Linked DNA regions of Homo sapiens: all the other regions are linked to region 3. The links are contacts of gene promoters, found by promoter capture Hi-C in human tissues and cell types (Jung and others, 2019). All regions are on one chromosome and are shown on one strand. The core of a region is centred on a gene start or on the middle of the fragment in contact, and the rest is flanking DNA. Distances in the headings are between cores, read along the strand shown.

What was found. The method cuts DNA at HindIII sites, captures the fragments that hold promoters and counts their contacts. A contact is called where the count stands out against the background at its distance.
Region 1: a contact is called between a fragment that was not itself captured here and the fragment with the promoter of NBPF1 in region 3, in 1 of the 25 tissues and cell types used here (psoas muscle).
Region 2: a contact is called between a fragment that was not itself captured here and the fragment with the promoter of NBPF1 in region 3, in 2 of the 25 tissues and cell types used here (aorta and neural progenitor cells).

What each region holds. Positions count from the first base shown.
Region 1 is chr1:16,656,966-16,661,307 of GRCh38, forward strand. No RefSeq gene overlaps it. Among named protein-coding and RNA genes, the nearest start is that of RNU1-3, 7.8 kb to the right of the region's middle. RefSeq lists an enhancer at 1-765. The HindIII fragment of the contact is 8,663 bases long and covers 1-4,342 here.
Region 2 is chr1:16,560,490-16,564,769 of GRCh38, forward strand. NBPF1 (NBPF member 1) reads right to left here. Exons shown (of 18, transcript NM_001405701.2): 18 at 1,934-3,697. The coding sequence ends at 3,454. Among named protein-coding and RNA genes, the nearest start is that of TRG-CCC1-1, 17 kb to the left of the region's middle. RefSeq lists an enhancer at 3,787-4,280. The HindIII fragment of the contact is 4,147 bases long and covers 766-4,280 here.
Region 3 is chr1:16,611,227-16,615,959 of GRCh38, forward strand. It overlaps NBPF1 (NBPF member 1), which reads right to left and starts at 2,338. Exons shown (of 18, transcript NM_001405701.2): 1 at 2,112-2,338. RefSeq lists an enhancer at 2,182-3,139. The HindIII fragment of the contact is 9,860 bases long and covers 1-4,733 here.

The DNA of each region.
Region 1 (4,342 bases), core at 219-2,718, 45 kb after region 3:
GAGCTGATGGTGAGCCCCAGGGGTGGGGGCAGGGCAAAGTGAACACGTGGGAGGGAAAGAGCAGGAATGGGTGGCCCTGACCTTGCCCTGCAGCCGCTGCACAAGCTGGGCCTGCCGCTGCTGGCCCTCCAGGTAGGCCTGCAGCTTGCGCCACTAGGAGGCCTGCTCCTCCTGCAGCTGCCTCCGCAACTCCACGCTCTGGAGTACCAGCCCCCTGGGCTCTTGCGTCTCCAGCTCACCAGATTGCAGCCACAGAGCCTGCTCCAGCTGCAGGGAAGGGCCCTGGGTGAGAGTCCTGGGCCTCCTGGGAAGGCAGGCTCAGGCCTCTGTAGGGGGTGGCAGGCTGGGCCCAGACCCACAATGCCTTGTAGGCTGATAGCCTGGCGCCCTGGGGAGCAGCACATGTGGGCAAGCCCAGGGGCAGTGCACGTGTGCATGGGGTGATGCAGCCATGCACGGGCACGCAGATGGGGCATGCATGGACACATGCAGGTGAGCCCACAAACCCAAACCATGCAGGCAAAGCTCAAAGGTGCACCTGGGGTCTACGTCAGGGGCCTCAGTACACCATGCGCCTCTCCTCCAGAACACTTAGCCCTGTCGTGGTTTCTGTTTATTACATTGATGCCTGTGTCTTCCCACCATGCCCCCACCCCAGTGTGAGCTCAGAAAGCCTGGATTTTTTGTTCCTCATTGTATCTTAGTGCTATAATGGTGTCTGTGGAATGGCATGGCTCACGCTCAGTAAATATTTCTTGTGATGGTGAATTAATGGCATGAGCTCATGGGAATACATTCAAACAGAGGTGTCAATCCGCCTATGCATATCTGAGCTTAAAAATATGCACACACATAACACATACAGGCAACCTCAAACATCCCCAGGGGGACACGAAGGACTCCCCTCATATACACAGCATTAAGATTTGTAAGAGGTGCACACAGATGTTGCCCTATACGGCGCCTGCATATTAATGCCCACTTCTGGCTGGGTGCAGTGGCTCATGCCTGTAATCCCAGCACTTTGGGAGGTCAAGGCGGGTGGATCACTTGAAGTCAGGGGTTCGAGACCAGCCTGGCCAACGTGATGAAATCCCGTCTCTACTAAAAATCGAAAAATTAGCCGGGTGTGGTGGCATGCACCTGTAATCCCAGTTACTCAGGAGGCTGAGGCAGGAGAATCACTTGAACCTGGGAGGCAGAGGTTGAAGTGAGCCGAGATCGCACCACTGCACTCCACCCTGGGCGACAGAGCAAGACTCCATCTTTTATTTATTTATTTATTTATGTATTCATTTATTTGTCTCATGGGCTGAGCGAGGGGACCCCGGCTGGTGGAGGGACAGCTGCGCCCTGCAGGCCGCTGCGTCCGGGCAGACCCCGGCCTCTTGTCGTGCCCCCGGCCCGCGACAACCCGGGCAGGATGGGCAGCAGGACGCGGCGGGGCATCCGCGGAGCCCGTCGGGAACGCTCTCTTGGCCTCCGGTGCCGGGCAGCGGTGGGTGCGGCACCCACAGTGCCCACAGCGCCCCCAGCCCTGGGACGTGGCTCCAGCCCGCCCCCAGGCAGGCGGCCTCCTTCGCCGGGAGCACGTCGCCTGGGCAACATGGAGAAACTTCAACTCTTAAAAAAACAAGACAGCCACCACAACAACAAAAAGAACAGATATAAGCCGGCTGTGGTGACTCGTGCCTCTGCTACTCCAGAGGCTGAGGTGGGAGGATCGATTCAACCAAGATACAGTGAGACTGTCTCTCAGAGAAAAAGTCAAACAAACAAAAAAAGAGGCTGTGTAAGAGGTGACTCTGGGGACAGTGGAAAAACACTAAGGTTTTCAAGTGGTGTTAAAAGCCACTAGGCCTTGGGGACCATTGAGCAATCTACAAAGCACGGAAGCCTAGATCCCTGAGCTCTGCCTGCCAAGTACCACCACAGCTAACATGGGAGACCTCCCCGACAGAGACTGAAATTTGCCTCCCGAGGAAACAAGTGACTACAGACATCTGTCCCAGGACAGTAAACAAGAAAGCAAGGTCTCACAAAAACAAAAACAGCTGACCACAGCATACAATCACTGAGACCGAGCCTGCGACTATAGGTGAAAAAAAAAAATGCTGTCCATTATTCATACCATGAAAGACCAGGGGAAAGTGGGAACGCAGTCCCCTACTACTGTTGTGGGAATCAGGAGAACAGAGAGACCAATGGGTGGAACAGGAGGATTTATTGACTGCACTGAGGCCCAGCAGATGAAAATCCAAAGGCTGAGCCCCGAACAAAGACAGGGCTTAACTTTATAGACACTTCTGAAAGGGGGTCGGCTAGTTTGAATGGCGCGGCGGGAATTTGATGGCATGAAACTCGGGGGCAGGCAAGAGGGCTTATAGAAGCAGAACAAAGGCAGCTAATCAAACTGTCACAGGTCTTGCAATGCAAGTATAGCTGGTGACCTTGCAGCTGCACTGAAGGGAAATCAAGAACTTAACAAAACTTGAATAATTAGAAATGGGAAGGGGGAAAGAGAAGGTAGTAAAGGCATTTGTTGTTTTTTCCTCTTATCTTTGTTGGGGCTTACTGTGTTGAGAGAGTCTCCGGAACTCACTCCTCGCGGCTCTGACTTTTCAGATCGTGTTACCGAGGATCTACTAGGGCTCTATCTATGGCAGGTCTTGGAGTCAGCCAAGTACAGGGAACCTGTCTTTTCCTTTTAACTTCTGCCTTATTACTACAAGTTGTACAGCACACCATGCCTGGTTTTCATCAGCAATGTTTCCTGAGGTTACAGAAAGATTTCTAATCCTGGGAGGAAACACTCCCTTGAAGCAAAAGTGTTCTCCCCCAAAAAATGCAAGGAGCTATCTTCTAGATAGCCAGGCAGATAATTCTCAGGTTTTGCCCCACAGAATCTCTATCTAAAATACAGCAGTGGTCATGCCTAGTGAAAAGTTTGAGGGAACTCGCCCAGTGTTGGGTTTCTTCAGAGCCATATATATAGATATAACCAAATATCCTAAAAGACACTGCCCTTCATCATTCCATGCTGTTAGACATTTACAGGACCATGGATGGTGATCTCCTCCAGACAAAAATAAATGCTGGTGCAGAATAGGTAAGTGTATTATAATTTGAGGACATCAGCTTTTGGGCATTTTAAACCATGGGTCAGACATGTTAGAGCAAGAGGCCAGGTTGATAGCAAGAGGGAGTGTTTTTCTTTTAATTTGTCAATAGCAAAGTGATGTTTGCCACTGTGATTTCAGAGTGAGGTGGCAATTTGTTGTTGTTTGGTTTTGTGGGTTTTTGTTTGTTTGTTTGTTTGTTTGTTTTTGAGACAAGGTCTCACTGTCACCCAGGCTGGAGTGCAGTGGCATGATCAGGGTTTACTCCTGCCTTGACCTCATGAATTCAAGCAAACCTCCTTACTAATCCTCCCGAGTAGCTGGGATTACAGGCACGTGACCCCACACCCTGGGGTGTGAACTGGGATTTGATGTTTTCAGTTGGCTCTCTAATGGAATAGGTTCCCTTACTCTTGTAGAATCAGATTGTCTTCATGATTATCATTCTTGTGTGCATTATATTTCTACTACCCTGCTATTTTTTTTTCTATTTTTCTTTTTTCTTTTTATTTTTTTCTTTGTGAGACAGAGTCTCGCTCTGTCTCCCAGGCTGTATTGCAGTAGCAGGATCTCAGCTCACTGCAACCTCCACCTCCTGGGTTCAAGCAATTCTTTTGCTTCAGCCTCCTGAGTAGCCACCTGGCTAATTTTTGTATTTTTAGTGGAGACAGGGTTTCACCATGTTGGCAGGCTGGTCTCAATCTCCTGACCTCAAGTGATTCACCCGCCTCAGCCTCCCAAAGTGCTGGGATTACAGGCATGAACTACCACACCTGGCTCTCAAACCATTTTAGTTAAGCAAAGACAGATTTGTCTGGCTTTTTAGTACAATGCTGAATTATCCTCCAATCTATATTTTTAGGAAGGACCTCGGGAATGGCAACTTGGAGATATTTGGTGAAAATGTGAACCTTTCATGTTCTGCTTCAGTCCCTTTTTGAAAATCCTTCCAATTTACCTTTTGCAACCAGTTAGTGGCCTTCCCTTCTTCACCAGCATGTGAGTTAATTGATAAAGATCAGAATATTTGGGCTCAAAGGTTTCAACAGTTAAGTCAAATTTTCTGCCAAAGCCTACAGGATCTTGGAGCCTGCTTTAGAAACAGAAGAGTGAAATGTATTTAAGTTTAGATCAGGGAAGTCCTTTATAATATTCTTAATTCACGTTTTGGTGAAGTGGTATACACAACGGTAGGCTCCCCTCTTCCTGTGGGTTTGGGTTTT
Region 2 (4,280 bases), core at 1,589-4,088, 50 kb before region 3:
CGCAGTTAGGCAAAGTGTTCTTTGTTATCAAGAAACACAAACCATTAAAGAAAACATTGATAAATTCAACTTTATAAAAAGTAAAAGTTTTTGCTCAACACGAGACAGTATTAAGAGAACAAATATAAGCTGCAGATTGGGAGAAAAACAGGGGAAATGACAAATGTGACAAAGGACAAGTGTGATAGTTACTTGCACGTGTCACTGTGACTGAGCACCAGGGTGCCGGGACATTCGGCCAAATGTGATTCTGGTTGTGTTCCAGAGAGTGTTTCACATATGATTAACATCGGGATGGGCAGACTAAGTGAAGCAGATTGCCCCCCTTAACGGGGGTGGGACTCATGCAATCAATCAAAGGTCAGGAGAGAATTAAGAGGCCTAATGGGAAACAAATGCTTTCCTGGGTATCCAGCTTTCCTTCCATCTTGGGAATTTCAGCCTCCATAATCTCAGAAACAAATTCACATATGTATACACACACATATACATTTCATAGGTATGTGGCTAAGATTGTATTTTTAAAAGTTCAGCCATGAGATGATTGGTGAAGCCAGCCAATGAATAAGGGTGTGTTCTATTATATGACTCAGTCTTCTTTTGTACACGATTGAAGTTCTGCATTTGAAGTAGGAGGACAGGAGAGAGCAAGTCCACCTAGGATGATAACAGCTGAATTTCTCAACAGACACTTCAAAGCCCTAGGCGTTAACTTAGAGAGTCAAAAATCCCACCCATAACCCTGCCCCTAAACGCCAGGGCTAGGGAACACTGTGGCCCTCAGGTGATTTTGTTTCACTTGGTCTGGGAGCCACACAAGGGCAGAGGGAGCAGGAAACACTAAGCAAATCGAGGCCAGGACAGCAGGGAGGGCCTGTTCATGACAGAACACAGGTAAAACTATCCTCAGAAAGAGCATGTGGAGAAACACAGATCATGCCTGAGACCTGGTGGATTAGAGCACTGGCTACTGGGGAATTGAAAGGAAGGGGCTTCACCATGCAGAGGACCAGAGGTGCCAGTCTTGGAAACGCAGAATTGCTGGGAGATGGGGAGGCATGGACAAAGGAAGCATCCTCTGGAGACTCATGGTGAAGAGAACAAATGAAGTAACTGGCAGAAATTATAGGTCCTGGTAGAACAAAATAGAATCCCACAATGAGAACATACAGCATGTATGTCCCGCAAGGAAGACAATAGCTCCTAAAAATGCAAGAAAAATCATTTTGGGCAAACACCTTATATCCAGTAATGCGATCCATGTATCAAGACCACGAGGAAGATTATTAAACATGCTAAACTCAGCGAGACCTGATTCCCTCATGAGGACTCTGTTAAGGATGAGTACCACTCAGCAAGTGATGACTGTGACATTCACTTTTGAACAGCTCATGAGCATTAATATATTTAATTGTGGATCTAAACCAAAAACCAAGGTGTGGGCAAGATGACAACCACAGAATGTCACTGGCATATGTTTAGGTTCAAATACCATTATGAGAAGTGGCAGGTAAAGGAGGTAGGAAAAAGAAAACACATCATGTAACTGACTGTCATATGGAAATATTTGACGTTGAAAGTCATAATTTAAAATGTATAAACCAAATATTAGAAGTGTGTCTAGTTCAAAGGGGGGAAAACTATGAAACATTTTTAATCAATATCAAACATGAGCTACACAACCCTTCCTAAATGCCAGAGGCACACACAGACACACACACACACACTCTCACAAAGAATATAAATATCTAGAACCAAGAAATGGAGTAAATGCATTCTGCTACATATGGTAAACATAGCCTACAAGGTGGAAGAGATTAGAAAATAAACAGGGAAATGGAAATGTTTTTATTAATTCACATCAGTACCCACCAAAACCAATCAGCATAACAAAAGATTATAACACTGAATGTAAAAAACAATCCAACAGTCCAGAGTGATAGGCAAAAGCTTTTAATTGTATAGATTAAAATAACTTTGGACAAAAATTAAAACTCAGGCAGAGAATGTTTTTTTTTTCAACAACACACACTAGCAAAAACAAAGGCACAGTAAACATTGAGGCAGAAAGTTTCCAGCGTAGAGATATGAATATAATAATAGACACAGGCAGGGATGATTAATAAATGATAAAATGTTTACAGGATGATCATTGGAATACAGGACATTTCTAATTTTGAAAACCACCCTCCCAAATACTTCATTATAAGTAAGGTGTCTCTAAAAGGGACAGATCTCCTAGACCCCTCCTTAACCAAGTAACCAGTCCTGATATCATGATAATGCTGATGGACAAACTAGACCTTCTCTGCCCGCAGATGGGCTAAGGTTGGAAACTCACAGCATTGTCTCTGCAGTGTTCCCGGCAAAACGTTTAGGCTGAATTTAATCATGAAGACATTTTCAGACAACTTCAGAATGTAGATCATTGAGCCAGAGAGCTGACCTGTCCTCTATAAACAAGTCCATGTCACCACCATCAATGACAACAACAAAAAGATGAGGAAATATTTGGGGTTCAAAATAACTAAAGAAATGCAGCTATATTATCTTTTTACTTTTTTTGAACCCAAAATATCTCTTCTCCTTTTTGTTGTGTGATTTGTGGTGATATGGACTATGTGAAGGAGACAGGTCAGTTGTCCTGCTCAGTGTTCTACATTCTGCAGTTGTCTGGTAATTACCTCCTATGAAACTCAGGCTAAGCGTTTTCTGCAAGAACATGGCGTTGTTCATATTCTGCACCGGCAGAGTCCTGGGTGACATGCTGTCTCCTGCCAGCGGCTCCTGACTCCTGTTCTCTACAGGATGGAATCGAGAGGAGCAGGGCTAAGGCCTCCCAATGCTGTTTGTCCATCTAGCTGTGGTCTTCCTAAGTACTGACACCAATTGGAGGCTGAAGGACTGTGGCTTCTCTAACCAAAGGAGCCTAGCGGGTTAACAATTGTCAAGAGCAGTTGGTGGTTCTGAAATACAATCCTCAGCCAAGGATCCCTCCTGTGTTAAAGATGGATCAGCTAAAACAATTCAACACTGAAGATACAAAGAATGAGGTTAGGTTCATTGAAACCAGGGTAACACCTTTGGATGAGCTAAACACAAAGATGACACTGACCTTGAGCAGGTATAGAAGCTCAGAGACATGACTGCAAAATGAAATCCCTGAGGAACTTTGTAGCTACCCAGAGATAAGTGGTTCAAATTAAAATGTCTGACTGATCACTCCCGGCATGTGCTGCACAGTTATGTGAACGTGTCACACCTAACTTGGGTCCATTGTCTTCAGACTGAGCACAGGGTGCCACTGGCATGGTCTGAGAATAGGAATAGAGCCATGCCCACTGACCCATCCTATGTCTGGGCTTCCAAATGGAACTATAGTTTCATTCAAATCTTCACGTGCCTATAGGTCCTGCCTGCAGGAATGACATCTCTCGGCTTAGTAAGGGCTGCTTACTGTGGGAATATGACTCCCATCTGGAAGACCAGGTGGAGACTTGTTCCCATCAAAGTAAGAAACCTATTGTCCACGTCAAGGGCGAAGCTGATGTGCTGTTCCTCAAATGAGTAAAACACACTTCTGTAGTGCTGGAATGAGTCAGGTAGTTCAAAGTACATTGACGGAGTCGAATAACATCTATCCAGTGAGTCCTGCAAGACTTCAGGCTCTTCCACTTCCATCAGCATGCCGCTGAGCCTGGAAAAGCAGACAAAACTAAAGAAGCAGCCAGGGAAAATCAGACACCACAGAGCCCCACTAGATTTCAGAAGTAACGTAAGGAAGTGGTAAGAAAAGAAAAGGATAGATCCATTAGATCCATTAATGAGGTAAAAAAAAAAAATTATTGCCTTTATGTTGGGATAGAAAAGGGCCAGGTAGAAAACAATGAAAGAGAAAGACAGAGAGACAGAGACAGAGACAGAGACAGAGAGAAAGTGAGCTAGTGAATTGGCCAGGTGACATACTGGTAAGGGAGTAAAAGGACACTCTGAGTTAGTGCCCTCATGACACACAGCACACTGCGATCATGAAAAGAGTGAGCTCAATAGTTTTCCATAAAATATGCTCAAAATTCGATGCAGTGGCCATGAGAGTACAGCTTTTGAAGTATGGTCATCCTATGGTACGTTAGTAAATGATAAGGGGAGGAAGAAATGGAAACCTAAACATCTACTGCAATGAAAACCAACAGCAATGACAGTAGGAGTAATTCAGCCTTCGTTGAAAACATGAAATCAAACACACTCTGGTTTCCCTCAATCTGTTGCCTCCAGGTGTT
Region 3 (4,733 bases), core at 1,088-3,587:
CCCAACCCTTTGGGAGGCCGAGGCAGGTGTATCACTTGAGCCTAGGAATTCCAGACCAGCCTATGCAACGTGGCAAAACCCATCTCTACTAAAAATACAGAAAACAGCTGAGTGTGGTGGTACTCCCCTGTAGGTCCCAGCTACTTGGGGGCTGAGGCAGGGGGATCACCTGAGCCTTGTGAGGTCAAGGTTGCAGTGAGCTGTGATTGTGCCACTGCACTCCAGCCTGGGCGATGGAGTGAGATCCTGTCTCAAAAAGAAAAAAAAAAAAAGAGAATCTCCCTTCATGAAAAAACACCATAAAAGAGTGAAAACGCAAGCTACAGATTGAAAAAAGGGAAATGCAATACATATAAATCCTAGAAAGGAGGCATATCCAGAATAAAGTATTACAAATCAACAGGAAAACAAGCATATCAATGAAAACTGGATAAAAAGATTTAACAGGCACGTCACAAAAGAGGACATATAAATGGCAATAAAAGATACTCAATCTCAATGAAACCACACTGATATATTACTGCACCCCTACTAGAATGGCAAAATAATTTTTAACTGACAGGTATCAGCGAAGATGTGGGGTAACCAGCATATCCCTGCTAAATGGTACAACTACTTTGGGAAAATGTTCAACAATATGTAATACTAAAGTTTTATCATTCATATACCTCTAAAACCAACAATGCCACCCCTACAAATATACCCCAGACTAGTAATGTTCAATTTCTTGATCTGTGGTGGTTCACTTGGTAAAAATTCATTACTTTTTTTTTTTTTTTTTTGAGACAGGGTCTCACTCTGCCATCCAGGTCGGAGTGCACTGCCATGATCACGGCTCACTGCAATCTCAACCTCCCGGGCTCTGGTGATCCTCCCAACTCAGCCTACCGGGTAGCTGGGACTACAGGCACACGCCACCACACACAGCTAACTTCTGTATTTTTAGTAGAGAAAGGGTTTTGCCACATTGCCCAGGCTGGTCTGGAAATCCTGGGCTCAAGTGATCTACCCACCTTGGCGTCCCAAAGTGCTGGGATTACAGGTGTGATCACTGCGCCCGGGCCACCTGCACATGTAAAATTGTGAACTTCTGTATACTTCAGTAACTTTTCCAAGATTTCTTTGACGCAAAGTTCTCAGAAATCTTAAAGCTAGCATTTCAGAATAGAAAAAGTAGCTTCTGGTTCACTAGTGAAATTTTACCAATAGAATTTAAAAACAAAAAGCTACTAACGCATATCAGCTCAGAACACTACCAGCAGATCTTTTCTTTAACTTCCTGAAGCACTGGGATTCATTCTTTTGGCAAAGAAAGGATGAACAACACTGTAACCCAAAGAAAAGATACCACTGCCAGAAAAGACTTCTTTTCGAAAGCAGCTCTAAGCAAAAGATAGGAGGAAAACAAGGAAGCCAGGCCAAACGTCTTGGTTAACTCTCCGCTGAAAGGACGCCACATGAGATGATCTAAGAAGCCAGCCAGCCAGCCAGACGCAGGGAAATCACAGCAACTCTTTGGAGTGCAAACAGCAACCCCACAATCCAATCTACCCGAAATCCTGCGGTTCATTTGAGGCTTGCCCCGCTAGTCAGGAGGTGATTCAGTGATGGCTACAAATGCTGCTCATGTGCATCCTGGAGCTGGCACACCTGGCTTGCCCATCACCAGCCTGGAGACACCGCCAGGAGCAGAAGCCCGGAGGCCAGTAAAGACCCCAACTTTGCAAGTCAGGGGCGCGAGCGCGCTCGCCTCTCAGGTCCGCAGAGGGAACGGATTTCTGGCCTGGAGGGTGGGGTGCGGGGTCAGTGTCCTCTACAGGATATAGGAGGACGTGCCCCCGAAGCTGCTCCGTCCCTCCACCCCCTGGGATGCCACAGAACACCCGCCAGCGAGTTTCTTCCCCAGCGCCCACGAGAGTTGGGCTGCGGGCGGCAGCGGCAGGCGAAGAATCCAGCGCGGGGAACTCAGGCCCCGGCGGTGCACGACCCCCCACAGCCCCCACCCGCCCCCGCGCTCGCGCAACAAAACTTGCCACGGCCGCGCCTCGACCCAGCTGTGCGCCCGCGGGTCCCGGATTCACCGCCCGCCCAGCCTGGCGCGGCGCCCTCACCTCAGAAACGCTGGGTGGACTTCGCGTAACTTCCCATTCACAGGGCAGCCGGCAGCCGCGCCGCCGCGCCTCGGCCCAGCTCCTGGCGCCGCAGATCGCCCGTCCCGCGTTCCCAAAAGCACCGCGCTCGCTCAGAAGCTCGGGCAGCCTCGCGACCCTCACCTACGCCTCCCAGTACCGCCGCTGTCTCAACCGCCACCCAGCCCCTCGCCTGCGCCTGCGCCTGCAGCCCACTGGCTCCTCAGGATCCCGATGGGCGTGTCAGGATAACCCAAGGCGCAGGCGCGGCGGGGCCTTAAAGGGACCCGGCGGCCTCTTCTGCACAACGGGTTCGAGCAGGTTAGGGGCCGCGCAGGCGGAGGAAAGGAGTAACCCAGGGGAAGGACCGAGTGCAGCGGGGACGGGGAAATCCCTCTCTCCCCTCCGCCTGTCTTTCAAAGCACCAGCCCTCGACCCTCCAAATCGCTGGTTTCCCCGGCCACTTGAACAGCCCCTGCCAGGTTGAAGAGGCAGGAGACACACCCCCTCTGGGGCTGGAGCGACCCCGCGCTTAGGACTGCAGGCCTCGCGCTGCCGCACCGCCCCGAATCTGACTTCCAGGCACGGGCACGCGGTGCAGTCGGGCAGGCTTCAGAAGAGCCCCCAGCTCTCCCAGAGGTGGCCTTAGGTCACTCTCAAAAAGAATAACCAATGTGTCAATGGCACTTGTAGTTATTTTCTAATTTAAATTTATTAACAGATTTTGCAGATGGGCTTCCACTGAAATAAGCCTTTGAGAAAAAGAAAAACTTTTTTTTTCAACAGGATTAGAATACCAAGAAATAGGAAGTAAAGCCATGCCGTCCACCCAGCTAAAAACTTTGAAAACTTGATATTTTATCTAAGGCAAATGTTTGCATAACTTTAGGTCATGCCATTATTTAAAGTCAATTTCAGTTAACAATTTCATTGCAACTGAATCTATCTTGTATAAGAAAACTAAGATACATCCCTGATAATCTACCTCTCCCCTCCTATACTCCATCCGTCAGCAAATCCTACTGGTTTTTACCTTCCAAATTTTCCTTGAATCTGTCCTCTTCTATCTCCTCCGTCACCACCCTAGTCTAGGCTGCCTTCACCTGGGGAGTGAGGGTCGAGGGACTACTGACCTAGTCTTCTTGTGGTTTACCCATATCCCCTTTATCGCCTCTCTAATCTCAACACAACAGGCAGAGTGGCTTTTCCAAAATATAATGTGACCGTGTCACTTCCCAGCCTAAAGCACTTAAACACCTTCCCATTCTCTTAGACAAAACCTCCTAACTAACCAAGCCCCGAATGGCCAGGCGCCTTGCCCACTTCTTCATCTCTTCTCACTACTCAGACCAATTCTGTTCTGCTCTCTCTGCTCCAGCCAAACTGGCCTCTTTTATTCCCTATTTACCAGCTTCCTGGCCTCCACAGAGCTTTTGCTCATGCTTTGCTCTGTGCCTGGAAAGTTCTTCTAACCCCTATTCTTCTGAGAACAGCTGTAGTCTCCACCTCTGAAAAGCACCTTCTGACCTCCCTATGGTGGTCCCTTACTCCTATCACATTGCATGAAACTGTAATCGGGTGGTTATTTTGGTGAATTTTTTACTATCGGCTACGTAAGCCCAGGGTTTGGTTTTGTTTGCTTCATGATTTGTATTTCCACATTTGTTAAATACATATTTGTTCATAAATGAGAATGATGGATGCTAGAAGTTGAAGTAAATTTGGCATAAAGTCAGAGAAAGAGAAAATGTCACAATCTGACAGTTGGAGTCAGAATGTAGAAACTTCAGTTATATTAAAACTGATTTTATATCGTTTTAGGCTGAGTTGTCTTAGGATGCTTTGGGTAACCTTTAAAACTGAGTTCTCAAAGAGCCTTGTATAAACACCTGAATTAATAATGATAAGCCATGGGGTGGCCCACATAAAACTAATAACATTGGTTGCTTTAAGAGAGGAAGACTGAGCCAGGCACAGTGGCTCATACCTGTAATCCAAGCACTTTGGGAGGCCAAGGCCCGCAGATCATTTGAGCTCAGGAGTTTGAGACTAACCTGGGCAACTTGGTGAGACCCTGTCTCTACATAAAATACAAGCAAAATTAGCCAGGCGTGGTGGCGGGCACCTGTACTCCCAGCTATTTGGGAGGCTGAGGTGGGAGGATTGCTTGAGCTCAGGAGGTTGAGGCTGCAGTGAGCCATGATCATGCCACTGCATTCCAGCCTGGATGACAGAGCAAGATCTTGTCTCAAAGAGAGAGAGAGAGAGAGAGAGAAATGAAGACTGGTGACTGGTGGCTACTGGTGGGAAGGAGATTTTTACTAAATGCCCAAAAGGTTTAAAATTGTAACTTTTTTATTTCAAAGTCTGTGAAGATAAATGACACAAAAGAGCACATACCTTCCCATTTATTTGAAATTCTAGAAAGGGGAAAATTAATCTGTGGTGAAAAAATCATAGCAGTGGTTCCCTCTGGCAGGGGATTGACTGGGAAGTTACATGAGAGAAATTTCTGGGTGGTAAAAATGGTCTCTGTCTTGATAGGGATATGAGTTATATAAGTGTATTCATTTGTCAAAAAACATACAGTTAACATTTCAATGA